Regions from separate parts of the Homo sapiens genome. Here region 2 is linked to region 1. The links are contacts of gene promoters, found by promoter capture Hi-C in blood cells and fetal thymus (Javierre and others, 2016). All regions are on one chromosome and are shown on one strand. The core of a region is centred on a gene start or on the middle of the fragment in contact, and the rest is flanking DNA. Distances in the headings are between cores, read along the strand shown. Region 1 holds the start of ZNF700 (zinc finger protein 700). Region 2 overlaps ZNF136 (zinc finger protein 136).

Evidence for each region. The method cuts DNA at HindIII sites, captures the fragments that hold promoters and counts their contacts. A CHiCAGO score of 5 or more calls a contact.
Region 2: a fragment that was not itself captured here is called in contact with the fragment with the promoter of ZNF700 in region 1 in 1 of 17 cell types (naive CD4 T cells); the score reaches 5.2 in naive CD4 T cells.

What each region holds. Positions count from the first base shown.
Region 1 is chr19:11,921,818-11,928,997 of GRCh38, reverse strand. ZNF700 (zinc finger protein 700) reads right to left here and starts at 3,891. Exons shown (of 4, transcript NM_144566.3): 1 at 3,725-3,891. The coding sequence starts at 3,787. It also overlaps a transcript of ZNF69 not described here. RefSeq lists a silencer at 3,429-3,628 and enhancers at 4,019-4,128, 4,179-4,228, 3,676-4,248, 4,405-5,194, 5,195-5,985. The HindIII fragment of the contact is 3,475 bases long and covers 2,270-5,744 here.
Region 2 is chr19:12,180,919-12,187,984 of GRCh38, reverse strand. It overlaps ZNF136 (zinc finger protein 136), which reads right to left. Exons shown (of 4, transcript NM_003437.5): 2 at 2,074-2,200; 3 at 1,811-1,871; 4 at 1-1,415. Among named protein-coding and RNA genes, the nearest start is that of ZNF136, 21 kb to the right of the region's middle. The HindIII fragment of the contact is 722 bases long and covers 999-1,720 here.

The sequences.
Region 1 (7,180 bases), core at 2,642-5,141:
TGTAAATGACTGAAGGGAAACAGGAAAGACCCTTTCCCTCTCCACTATTTTTTTTAACTTATATTAATATGATTTTTCACAAATGAGATGGGGTCTCAATATGTTGCCCAGGCTGGTCTTGAACTCTTGAGATCAAGCCATCCACCTGCCTTGGCTTCCCACAGTGCTGGGGTTACAGGTGTGAGCCATCCTACCAGGCCCCTCTTCACTACTGATCTCTGTAGTAAGACTACAGAGACTACTTTCTTTTTTTTTTTTTTTTTTTTGAGACGGAGTCTCGCTCTGTCGCCCAGGCTGGAATGCAGTGGCGGGATCTCGGCTCACTGCAAGCTCCGCCTCCCGGGTTCACGCCATTCTCCTGCCTCAGCCTCCCAAGTAGCTGGGACTACAGGCGCCCGCCACTACGCCCGGCTAATTTTTTGTATTTTTAGTAGAGACGGGGTTTCACCGTTTTAGCCGGGATGGTCTCGATCTCCTGACCTCGTGATCCGCCCGCCTCGGCCTCCCAAAGTGCTGGGATTACAGGCGTGAGCCACCGCGCCCGGCCCAGAGACTACTTTCTCACACAAAGATTTCATGGCTATCAGATTGTCTTCAGATGGAATGTTAAATTCACTCTTAAATTGAAAAGGAAATAAAAACCAGCTAGAAAGAAAAGAAAACAAGCTCTGGGGGAAAAAAGTAAACCATTACGAATTAAGTTGTTAGCCAGGTGCAGTGGCTGATATCTGTATCTGTAATCCCAGCACTTTTGGAGGCCAAGGAAGCAGGACTGTTTGAGGCCAGGAGCCAGAGACCAGCCTGGGCAACATAACGAGACCTAACCTCTGTAAAAAATAAAAAATTAGCCAGGTGTGCTGGTGGGCAATTGTAGTCTTAGCTACTTGAGAGGCGGAGGTGCTTGAGCTGGGGAGGTCAAGGCTGCAGTAAGCCATCATCGCACCACTGCTCTAGGCTGGGTCACAGAGCAAGATACTGTCTCAAAAAAAAAAAAAATTGTTGTATCTCATACATCAGCCTTCTATGGAAAACATAATCCTGTTACATTTATTTGCCTTTTGCCTATACAAGTGTTAGGGAAGCAGGTGCCTAGGGGAGCCAGAGTAACACCAATTTAAGTTCAGCTCCATCTTGACACTAACAAGAAACACTCCTTGTCAGTCACAACCCATGATCACAAAATGTTTCCCATGAAGAAAACAGCCTGAAGATGCCTGCAAGTATCCTTACACTCCCACAACAATAGAATGTCCTGATGTCCCAATACCTATAACAATATGTGCTTTCAAGATAATTATAGTTATGTTTTAATGCACTTGGGTGCTAAAATGTAAAGGATAGTTTTCTTTAAATCAACAGAGTAATAAATTTTGTGATGCTGTCAGCCCACATGCACATAGGCACAGGTAGTTTATTCTTTACATAGAAAAGATCCCTACATAAGAAAAACTTAAAGACAGTACGTTCCTCCACTTGCTGTATGAGGATGCCCTACTCTGAAACAGAGAAGCTTTTTCTTTCTTTTTCCTTTTCTATTTATTTATTTATTTATTTATTTATTTATTTATTTATTTAAATAGAGACAGGGTCTCGCTGTGTTGGCCAGGTTGGTCTTGACCTCTTTCCTGTTTGTTTTGGTTTTTGAGATGGGGTCTCACTCTGTTACCCACACTGGAGTGCAGTGGTACATCCTCGGCTGGGCTGCAACCTCTGCCTCTGGGGTTCAAGTGATTCTCTCACATCAGCCTCCTGAACACCTGGGACTACAGGTGCAGGCCACCACACCCGGCTAATTTTTGCTAGTTTTGGAAGAGATGGGGTTTCACTATGTTGCCCAGGCTGGTCTCGAACTCCTGACCTCAAGTTATCCTCCCACCTTGGCCTCCCAAAGTGCTTGGATTACAGGCCTAAGCCATCATGCTGGCCCAGAGTAGCTTTCAATAAACTCTCTTCTCACTGCACTTTGTGACTCGTCTTGAATTCCTTCCTGTGTGAGATTCAAGAACTCTCCTGGGGTCTGATCAGGACCTCTTTTCCTGGTAATACAAGCAAGAACTTAACTTCCAGTTTTGGAGTACTGAGTCTATTTCCCTAGAGTCTGTGTTTTTCCCAAATGGGCCACTGCTATCCTTCCGCTTGAATAAACTCTTCCAACTGAAATCTTGACCTTTCTATTATTTCGGAGTGACAAGTCCAAATAAGGCAACTGCATCTCTGCAACCAATCAAGCATTTATCTGGTTTGTCTCCTCACGTAACTTATAAAAGCTTACCCCTAAACTGGTAAACTAAAAATAAAAACATACCTCTGGCCCGGCGAGATGGCTCACATCTGTAATCCCAGCACTTTGGGAGGCTGAGGTGGGTGGATCACTTGAGGTCAGGAGTTCGAGACCAGCCTGGCCAACATGGTGAAACCCCATCTCTACTAAAAATACAAAAATTAGGAGGGCATAGTGGTGCATGCCTGCAATCCCAGCTACTCAGGAGGCTGAGGCAGGAGAATCACTTGAACCCGGAAGGTGGAGGTTGCAGTGAGCCGAGATCAGGCCATTGCACTCCAGTCTGGGCGACAGGAGACTCCGTCTCAAATAAAAACAAAGTACCTTTCCAGCTAAGTGAAGTGACCGGCTCTTGGCCAACAGGACCCGCAAAAAACCCTGAAAATTGAGTGCCTCTGTATGACAGGATGGGAGGTGAGACAGGTCTCCTTATACCCTCTCCCACACATTCATGTAAAAATAGATAGAATGGAAAAACAGACTGCTTGTGGCAAGAAGATACTAACTTACAAACAAAACCTAAGGCCACGCAAGGCAAAAGTAAAGTCACGCCTCAGAATTCATAAAATCTAGAGAAACAGGTCTGTTTTCTGGCTGGGATGGAATCAAGTGGCAGATAACAGACCCCCTTCCTTCCTACCTCCTCCAAACTTTAGACAAACTTCACACTCTCAACCAGCTGCCACCTACAGAATCCCTCAACCACCTGTGCCTTCTAACCCCCCTTCCACAGGTCCCACCCTTTCTGCCAATGGAACTTACACCTTTCAGGCACTGATTCATCATTTTCCCTGCAATTCCTGTCTCTCTGAAATGAATAAAACCAAACTGTCTTGAGCCGCCTCGGGACCACTTACTCCAGGCTGCTTGGGGTTGTGTTTCCCTCGGCCAAGGTCTCTCCTATTCGGCTCTGAATAAACTTCTTTATTTTACATAGTTTGGCTTTTTCCGTTGACAAACCACAACCCAGGACGGGGTGTTTCTCATTCGTGAATCGCTGTTTGCTCAAATGAACTCTTTAATTGTTAACGTACCTCAGTTTAATTTTTAACAGGAGAAAGTGGGGACTGGGGGCCCCACAGACCACTGCTCCTCCCACGCACGAACCCCACACCCGAGTCAGGATGCCTCCATGACCCTCCCGTTGCTTCCGCACAATCTGGGGAGACGCGGGGCTGCGGGAGCGGAACTGCCCAGAGAGGGCTCCGGGGCAGGGGCCGCGGCCGCAGTCGCCGCGCAGGGACGGGACAGGACGCCCGGGTCCTGGCTGCTGGCCCAGCCCCGTCCAGCGGCCAAGGGGACCGAGGGCCGAACTGCTCAAGGAGGACTCGGTCCCAGACCCCGGAGTCGCCCACAGGGAGGCCCGGGTCCCGCCACAGCCGGTTCCCGCCTGTTCCAGGCAGCCCCTCCCCCGTCTCACGACATCTGGTCCCGCACACGCACCATTTCCCGGCTTTCAGATGTACCGGGGTCCTCTCTACAGCTCCTGTGACTACAGCAGGGCATAGCGCAGGCGACAGAGCGACAGAAGCCTGGGTACAGGCACCAGGTCCCTCTCGGGCTGGTCTGACCGGTTACCAACCGCCGCCCGCGCAGCGAGGAAGGTGAGGAAAGCGACCCCCTCCATTTCCGGATGAACTGTGGGCAGTGCCACGCCCCAGCACCTCTGATTGGATGAAATACTAGGTCCCGCCCCCCACATCTGAGTGACAGCTGAAGCCCTGGGTATCAGGCCCCGCAGAGCCAGACTGACGGATTCTAGCCACAGCTTCTCTAAGGGCGAGCTGCTTTCTGCACTCTGGTTATTGGATATTTGCATTTCAGCCAAACTTGCTATTGATAGAAGAGAACACTAGCGTCATCCTCACTCAAGGGACAGTCCCCGCTCCTTCGTTCTGCACGGGGTCACAGGAGTGTGCAGGGAATTTCAGACTCAGTGTCCATAGGAGCCAACTGCTGGCCTCAGAGCAGCAGGGGAACCGAGACCAGGCCAGGCACGACTGCACCAGGAGGAGAGGCATATGTCCTCGAGCGGGCCGGAATTGGGGATGAGGCGTGGCCAAGCCTTGCTCACACACCCCCATCCCCTTGTGAAAATGCTTCCTCCTTTCAGATCTTCATTTTCACCAGCAGGAAACTCTCACCAGGTTTTGTTTCTGACCTAAGTAAACTGTCAACTTCATGAACCCTTTATCCAGGTGACGCCACCAAACAATTCTGTCTCTAGCTCTAGCCTGATCTTCACACATTTTCTTTTCTTTCTTTCTTTTTTTTTTTTTTTTTTTGAGACGGAGTCTTGCTCTGTAGCCCAGGCTGGAGTGCAGTGGTGCGATCTCGACTCACTGCAAGCTCCGCCTCCCGAGTTCACGCCATTCTCTTACCTCGGCCTCCGGAGTAGCTGGGATTAAAGGCGCCCGCCACCACGCCCGGCTAATATTTTGTATTTTCAGTGGAGACGGGGTTTCACCGTGTTAGCCAGGATGGTCTCGATCTTCTGACCTCTTGATCCGCCCGCCTCGGCCCCGCAAAGTGCTGGGATTACAGGCGTGAGCCACCGCGCCCGGCCACACATTTTCTTTATCTATACAAATAACTCTGACCCCAACGACCCCATGCATGTCAAACCCCAAACCCTGCCCAGAAGACAGCTCCAGAGGTACAACACCAGAAAGGACAGAGACGCCACAAATGCGTCTGCACATGGGTCTTCTGCTTTCCAGGGCTCTGCAGCTTCTCGGAATCCACACCCTTTCTGGAGCTGCTCTGAGCAGCTGGAGGCCACTTGTAGAAGGGGGTGGGCTGCCCGCGAAGCCCCCAGGGAAACTCTCTTTCCCTCCCTTTGCAGGCTGCAGAGACTGTCCTCAACGTGGAATCACTGGCCTTGGGCTCTGCTGCCCCCTGCAGGTTATTCAGCTACTTCTCACCCCATCGATTAGTTTCGCGAGACAAACACCTTCAATCCCATTGTGTAAATAAGACACCAGCAGAGTCCCTGCTCTCCTCCTATGCTTATGTATAAAGTGGGGGAGGAAAAATCTAAGATAACTTAAGGGCATTTGAAAGACTTCCAGATCGCGGTGGAGGTGGCAGCTGAGGGACTCGCAGTCAATGACACTGCAGCACCTCCAGGCCAGGCTGGTGGGAGAGAGGGTGGAGAGCTGGAGATGGATGTGGATAGGTGGAGGGAGCTGCCCTGGGAACTGGGCTCTGCAGCAGTGCGGCTCTAGGGCCCGGAGCCCGGGAGAGCAGAGATGGGGGCTCCCAGGACAGGAAACTCAGGGAGGAGAGAGTCGGGTGGCTTCCATGGGACGGGGTGCTGTTGCAGCTTGTGTGAGCCAGTAGCTATCATAACTAAGCCCAATCGGGACGTGAAAACTTGGATTCCGTGGGAATTTATGAAGAGGAAGGCTCTGATGACAAAGAAGTCATCGATGAGGAGGGGGATGAGGGTCACTGGCAAGCTTGCTTCCTTATGGAAAGAAAAGTGAACACCCAACTACTGCTGCAAAATGGGATCAAAGGATGAGACTCTCGCTGTCAGGGAATAAACTGCTGCAGAACTCTTAGAGATTGCAAAGACCTTTCAACAACAGCCTGGGAGGCCAGGTGCCATGGCTCATGCCTGCAATCCCAACATTTTGGGAGGCCAAAGTGGCAGGATCACTTGAAGCCCGAAGTTGAAGACCACCCTGAGCAGTGAAGTGAGACACTCCCATCTCCATAAATCTATTTTTTAATTAGCCAGGAGAGGTGGTGTGTACCTGTAATCACAGCTACTCAGGAGGCTGAGGCAGGAGGATCACTTGAGCCCCAAAGTTTGAGGCTGCTGTGAGCTGTGATCAGGTTACTGAACTTCAGCAAGACACTGTCTCAAAAAAAAAAAAAATCAAAAACAAAAAAACCCATAAAAAGCCCACCAGACTCCCCGGGGAAACCCTGACCCCCTTGGATGGTCTAATTGTAAAACACAGCAGGTGGTATTTCCTTATGGACTGGATCATTCTGGCCACATAAGAGGCTTGGCCTACTGAGGATTTACCAGGCGGATGACCTCCTTGCAGTCAATGGAAAAGGCCCCTGGTGAAACCATCCCTTTAAACTTTATCAAATTCATCAGGGAGGATGGGAGGAGAAAACTTAAACCAAGCTGCAGAACCTTCAGCATTAATCATTAAGTCAGCTTGTTCCCTGAACTTCCTCATATTTGCTTCATACCTAGTGTCCTAGAATCCCATTGTTGTGGTAAACTGAGGAAGGAGAGACCAATATGGAGTACAGGAGGATTTGTTTATATTTTAGGTACGCACTGGCTCAGACGATTCATATCCAAAAAGCTGAGGACTGAACGAAGACAAAGTGGGGTTTTTATACGCTGTCTTACAGATGCCAAACAAAAGCAGTTAATCATACAGTGACAGGTCATGTAATCTATAGCATAACATAATTTATGACCTTGCATAGCCAGTGTCCTTGTAGCTGCATTGAAAGAAAAACAAGAACTGGCTAAATACAGACATTTGTAAAACATAATAATGCTTAAGAAGACTTGCAAAAGAGTAACAGTAAAAGAATCTGTCTCTTTTTTTTTTTTCCTTCAACATTGCTCTGGAAGGGAGGGGTGTCTGGAGCCCATTCCTTTGGCCTTGGCTATTTGGACATCGTTATCTTCTTGATAAGGTCCTGGAAGTGAGCTGCTAGGCAGAGGAAAACTTGTGCTTTTCTTTTTTCTTTTTAACCCTTGCCTTGCCACACTCTGGGCCTTAGCTTTTACTTTTCTTGGAGTAAATAAATTCAGTACTTATTATTTTTAAATTTCTGCCTCACGATGGACCCTAAATGATAGTTCCTGTTAACTGCTCTATAGATAATAACTTGAACGTTAGATGTTTTCCCTTTGAA
Region 2 (7,066 bases), core at 110-2,609, 260 kb before region 1:
TGCATTTATAAGGTGGTCCATCTTCAGCATGTGTTAACATGTGTCTCTGAAAGCTGGCACGGCAAGAATAGGCTTTCCCACATTCCTTGCAATGATAGGGTTTCTGTCCAGTGTGAGTCCTTTCATGTAGTCGAAAGGAACTAGAAGATCTAAAGGCTTTACCACATCGCTTACATTCAAAGGGTTTCTCACCAGTGTGAATCATTTCATGTGTTCGAAAGGAGTTGAGATAACTGAAGGCTTTCCCACATTGCTTACACTCATAGGGTTTCTCTCCAGTATGAGTTCTTTCATGTATTCGAATTGATGTTGAAGAAACGAAAGCTTTACCACAATGTTTACATACATAAGGTTTCTCTCCAGTGTGAGTTCTTTCATGTATTCGAAATGGACTCAGAGAATGAAAGGGTTTCCCACATACCTTACATTTATAAGGTCCTTCTCCAGTATGTTTTATCATGTGTCTTCGCATACTTGGGATACAACTGAATGCTTCCCCACATTCCTTACATTCATAAGGTTTTTCTCCAGTGTGAGTCCTTTCATGTATTTGAAAGGTACTGGCAGATCTAAAGGCTTTACCACATTGTTTACATACGAAGGGTTTCTCACCAGTGTGAATTCTTTCATGTAGTCGAAGGGAGGGGAGATAACTGAAGGCCTTCCCACACTGCTTGCATTCATAAGGTTTCTCTCCAGTATGGGTTCTTTCATGTATTCGTAAGGTTGGGGAACAACTGAAGGCTTTACCACATTGCTTACATTTAAAGGGTTTTTCTCCAGTGTGAATTCTTTCATGCACTTGAAATGAACTCAGAGAATGAAAGGGTTTCCCACATACCTTACATTTATAAGGTCCATCTCCAGTGTGCTTTATCATGTGTCTTCGAACACTTGTGATACAAGTGAAGGCTTTTCCACATTCCTGACATTCATAGGGTTTCTCTCCAGTGTGACTTCTTTCATGTGTTCGAAATCTACTGGGATAATCAAAAGCTTTCCCACACACCTTACATTTATATGGTGTATATCCACTGTGTGTGATGATGTGTCTTCTAATTCTTTTGAGAGAAAAGAAGGTTTTTCCACATTCCTTACAATCATAGAGTTTCTCTCCAGTGTGAATTATCTCATGTGTTCGAAAGGAGTGGTGAGAACTGAAGGGTTTCCAACACTGGTTACGTGTATCTGGCTTCTCTCCATATTCCTGATATTCCTTTGGTTCATGTCCACTGTGATCTTTGATGTGTCTATTAAGGGATGACTGACCCATGCTGACTTCTCCATATACAATGCTTTCACAGAGTTTCACTCCAGGGATTTTCTTGCTCAGATTCTGATTTGCAAACTGGCTAAAAATTCCTCCACGCTGACTACCATCCTTAGTTTGATAGAGTCTTTCTAACATATGACTTCTGTAAAAAATGAGACGGACATTACTAAGGATTTGTTAATCATTTTATATTAATAGCTATTAAACTTGCATTTTCAATATTATCAGGTAAAGCGTAGACTCGATGCCAAGTCTGATTTGTTTGAGCATGAATGAATTCAATGCTCTGCAATGGGCTTGACCGCAACTATCACTCAAACAGTGATATTCTTAAATAGTTTCTTAATTCTGTTGACAAATGAACATTTTTATAAAAACTGAACATCTGTTTACACTGAAGAATATGTATTTGGGGAAAATATTCAAAAAATAAATCAATTTGAAGCTTGGCTTATCAGTTATGTTTGCCTGTTTTTAAAATTTCATGACATGCTAAGGTACTTTCAAGTGAATTTGCTTTCTCTGAGTACAAATTACCTTAGATTTCTCCCTCGGTGTTTGTAGTGATCTTTAATGTTCTGGTCCTTCCATTTTTTCCCTAAAACAGAGACCCAGAAAAATTCTGAATTAGTGCAAAATTATAGAAAAATTATTAGATTCTAGGTTCATGATACCCTGTGACTATGCCTGTTTTAGCCCCCCAAGTACTCTCCCTCCATGATGCAAACCATGGAACAGCATCACTGCACAAGAAGCACTTCTTCTTTAATTGCTAAGTGATGGAAGTATACAATCCTTACCTATAGAGGCCAGATTCCTCATGGTTTCCCACATCACATCTCTGTAGAGATTCTTCTGGGAAGGATCTAGCAAAGCCCACTCCTCCTGGGTGAAGTTCACATCTACATCCTCAAAAGCCACCGAGTCCTGAAACATCCCACATATGTGGAGAGGAGAATGGGTGAGACAGACAGGGCTGGGGAGCTGTACTCAATTCATAAGAAGTTCACATGTTTCAGGGGTCTGCAAACATTTACTCCACTGTTTGGTCATCATACTCACTTCCTTCCACACAGCAACTCTCATACTAGAATGGAACTATCGGGTAGAACAATAGCAGTGTCTGATCATCTTTCTTGGTGGTGGTTGCAAGGAGTAATACGTGCTGCCTGAGTCCCAGCTAATGTCTGCTCATACAGTGGACCTGTAGAACCTGTCATAACGAAGTCCTACCACCTACTATGCAAAAGAGTTTATATTAGCAGTCCTGAGACTGCTTACCCTTAAAAAAAGGCTCCTCACTCCTCACAACATTCATCTGAGGTAGGAGACCAACAGGACTTGTATTCTGATCACAACCCTACTGGCCAAAACAAGATCTGGCACAGGTAGGATAAAGTAAAGAAAGGGGCCAAAACCAGCAGACGACAAGAACAGCGATCTCTAGATGCTCTCACTGCTCATTAGCATAAAACACTCCCACCAATGCTATGACAGCTTACAAATGCCATGGCAATGACCTGAAAGTTATCATTCCTTCCTTAGAAAGTTTTAAATAACCCACCACTTAATTTGCATATAATTGAAAGTGGGTATAAATATAGTTGCCAAGAGACCATATGTTGCTGACTCTGGGTGTACTGCCTATGAGTTAGCACTGATCCACAAAGACCAGTACTGTTAAATAAAACACTGTTATCTAACACCACTGGCCTGCCCTTGAATTCTTCCCTGGGCAAAGCTGGAAACCATCCTGGGATAAGCCCCAATTTTAGGGCGCACCTGTCCTGCATCACATCCATTCCTGGTATCTGGGAAACGGATTTGGGGAAGGAGCCCAATGACCTATGTAAGAGTAGCTCGGTGCCTAAACTCTTTATGGAAAAAATATGAAAATTTCTGGCGTCCCACCTTCTGAGAGTTTGGGAATTTGTTACACGCGCAACACATAGTGCCCACCTGATGAGCCCCCAGAAACACTCCAGGAAGCATTTCGCATGTGTTCTCACAATTGGTTACTGGGAAAATTAAGCCCATCTTCTGTTATTATACTAAGAGAGAATACTTGCAAGCTTGTACCTATCCTGCAGATCAAATATAATTAAGTACTAAATGAGACTAATGAAGGATTTTTTACCTTTTTTTTTTTTTTTTTAGACGGAGTCTGGCTCTCTGTTGCCCAGGCTGGAGCGGCGTGATCTCGGCTCACTGCAAGCTCCGCTTCCCGGGTTCATGCCATTCTCCTGCCTCAGCCTCCTGAGTAGCTGGGACTACAGGCACCTGCCACCACGCCTGACTAATTTTTTGTATTTTTTAGTACAGACAGGGTTTCACCATGTTAGCCAGGATGGTCTCAATCTCCTGACCTCGTGATCTGCCCACCTCGGCCTCCCAAAGTGCTGGGATTACAGGCGTGAGCCACCACACCCAGCCCTCTTTTTTTTTTTGGATGGAGTCTTGCTCTGTCGCCCAGGCTGGAGTGCAGTGGCAGGGTCTTGGGTCACTGCAACCTCTGCCTCCCAGGCTCAAGGGATTATCCCGCCTCAACCTCCCGAGGAGGTGGGAGTACAGGCACGTGCCACCACACCCAGCTAATTTTTGTATGTTTAATAGAGATGGGGTTTCACCATGTTGGCCAGGCTGGACCCAAACTCCTGACCGCAAGTATCTGCCAGCCTTGGCCTCCCGAAGTGCTGGGATTACAGGCGTGAGCCACCACACCCAGCTTGATGAATCTTCACTAAATTGGTGAAAATAAATTGGTGAATTCACCAATTTATCTACCTACTTTCTCATCAAAATGTATCAGTGGCCGGGTGAACTGGCTCACACCTGTAATTCCATCACATTGGGAGGTTGAGGCAGAAGGATTGTTTGAGCCCAGGAATTCAACATCAGTTTAGGCAACACAGTGAGAACCTCCATCTCTACAGAAAAATTTAAAAATTAGCCAGCAGTGGTGGTGCACGCCTGTAGTCCCAGCTACTCAGGAGGCTGAGGTGAGAGGACTGCTTGAGACCAGGAGTATGAGAATGCAGCAAGCTATGATGGGTGCCAATGCACTCCAACCTGGGCAAAAGAGGAAGACCCTGTCTCAAGATAAACATAGATAGATAGATAGATAGATAGATAGATAGATAGATAGATAGATAGATAGATAGATTCAGTTATGTGAAGCCATAATGAAGAGTGATTCTCCCTATTTCTCTGAGCTTTTTCTCCCTGTAGCCTTCTCAAGGCTACACTCTAGGATTCTATTTGAAATCACAAAAAAGGAGCTGGGAGTGGTGGCTCACGCCTAAAATCCCAGCACTTCGGGAGGCCAAGGTAGGAGGATCACTTGAGCTCAGGAGATTGAGACCAGCCTGGGCAACATGGTGAAACCCTATCTCTACAAAAAATTAGCCAGTCGTGTAGCCTGCACCTATGGTTCTAGCTGCTCAGGAGGCTGAGGTGGGAGGATTGCTTGAACCGGGGAGGTGGAGGTTGCAGTGAGACGTGATTGTGCCACTGAACTCCAGCCTGGAGCCAGACTGTGTCTCAAACAAACAAACCAAAAAAAAACAAAACAACAACAACAACAACAAAATCACAAAAAAGAACAGACCTGAGAAACTTACTGCATATATGTTCTGGGGGGAAAAATTAAATACAAATTTTTAACAAATATAAGGGTAGATATTTATTTTTCTGAGATACACCTCTCATCTCTTTGGAAATATTTTAGCCTATCTTTCAAGCTTTAATGGTAAAATACATTTTACATGATGAAGTAAGTAAACAAATCTTCTTAAGGTGACAAAATCAGGGAAGGCCACTCTAACCTGGAACACAGAGAAATCTGACTTAACTGCCCAGTCAGGTCATCCTATCACATGGGACATCCCCCCAACCCCCATCCTGTCACTAAAGTGCTGCTCACCGACCCTTCCCAGAGACAGTGGACTGTGCCCCCACCCCCATGCCTAAGTGCATTTTGCTTTTCAAGTTCTTGCATAACCTGGCAGAGGTGGGTTTTCCTTGTCTTTTGGGATCATTTTTCTCCCTTCAAGTACTCTGAGAGAATCCAGAGGGCAAGAATCATTTTCTGTCTTTCCCCTCAATACTGCCATCCAATTAGCTGACCACTAACATGTCTCCAAAGAATGAAAACTGGGGCTAGAGAAAAACAAGCTGAGTGTCCCAAGAGGTGAGCTTTTCAGAGGAAGAGTAAACCATGTCACTGCTTCTAGGTCCAAGGCATCCAGGGGCTCCCCTGAGGGGCCACATGAGCTGATACTCACTAGACCCTCCAAGAGACATGGAAGCTATGGGCTTCTTGGGGCAGCCCCAGTCAGTTCTGAACCCCAGGACCAGGAAAAGAGAGGACAGGCTGAGGGCAATCAACCCTGCAAAGTTTCCAAAGGGGAACCTCAATGCAAAGGCATTCTGATAAGGGTTTGCACTTAGAGAAGATAAAAGAGAGACACAAAGCTTTTTCACAATGGAGTTTCAGGTGGTTATTCTCTGCTTACCTCTCAGGCGAAAAGGTCACAAACATAAAAGAAATCTTTATAAAACTGTCATCCACTGCCTTCTGCAAAAATGATAAACTTAAAATATGACATCTTTCTCTAATGGAGAAGGAAGGACAAATAGTCAGCTGGGCATGGTGACTCACACCTGTAATTCCAGCACTTTGGGAGGCCAAGGTGGGTAGATCACTTGAGGTCAGGAGTTCGAGACCAGCCTGGCCAACACGGTGAGACCCCATCTCTACTAAAAAACACAAAAAAATGGCCGGGCGCGGTGGCTCACACCTGTAATCCCAGTACTTTGGGAGGCAGAGACAGGCGGATTGCGAGGTCAGGAGATCGAAACCATCCTGGCTAATATGGTGAAACCCTGTCTCTACTAAAAATACAAAGAAATTAGCCGGGCGTAGTGGTGGGTGCCTGTAGTCCCAGCTACTCGGGAGGCTGAAGCAGGAGAATGGTGTGAACCCGGGAGGCGGAGCTTGCAGTGAGCCAAGATCACACCACTGCCCTCCAGCCTGGGCGACTCAGTGAGGCTCTGTCCCCCCCCAAAAAAAATTAGCTGGGCGTGGTGGCAGGTGCCTGTAATCCCACCTACTCAGGAGGCTGAGGCAGGAAAATCGCTTGAATCCAGGAGGCGGACATTGCAGTGAGTGGAGATTGCGCCACTGCATTCCAGCCTCGGCGACAGAATGAGACTCCACCAAAAAAAAAAAAACAAAAACAAATGCAAAAACAAAACAAAACAAAAAAACCAAATAGTTGATAACACTGTGCATCCGAGAACAGAAGCTGGTGTTGGGGACTGCAGAAATTATACCTACAATTTAGCAGTTTGCTGCCAGATCAAGGAGAGTTAGGCCGGGGGTGGATTTGATACCCTGCTTCCCACACATTTGAGCAACTCAGATGAAACAGAATCGGATGCTGATGGCGAGGAGGCCTGGGCCCCTCCAGCCATGTCGGACCCCAGGCCCCTGCACACTTGCCATTTCCCACACTCGCCATTTCCCATCTTCGGGGTCTCCTGGGTCCTCCCTCCGGCTACCACGGCCAGCACAGAGCACAGAGCCAGGGCAGTGGAGCCAGGAGCCAGAAGAAAGGTAATGCAGCCAGCTCAAGAAAAGAAAATTCACCACAAGATCGTACAGGGTGGGGTGAGGTTGGGGGCAGACAGGGCTCTGAGGCGCGCCTGATTGGACAATAAGTAGGATGCCATCCTGGCACCCCTAACTGGATATAACTTCAGGCTCCGCCCCTGTGGCTTAAGGGGCAGAAC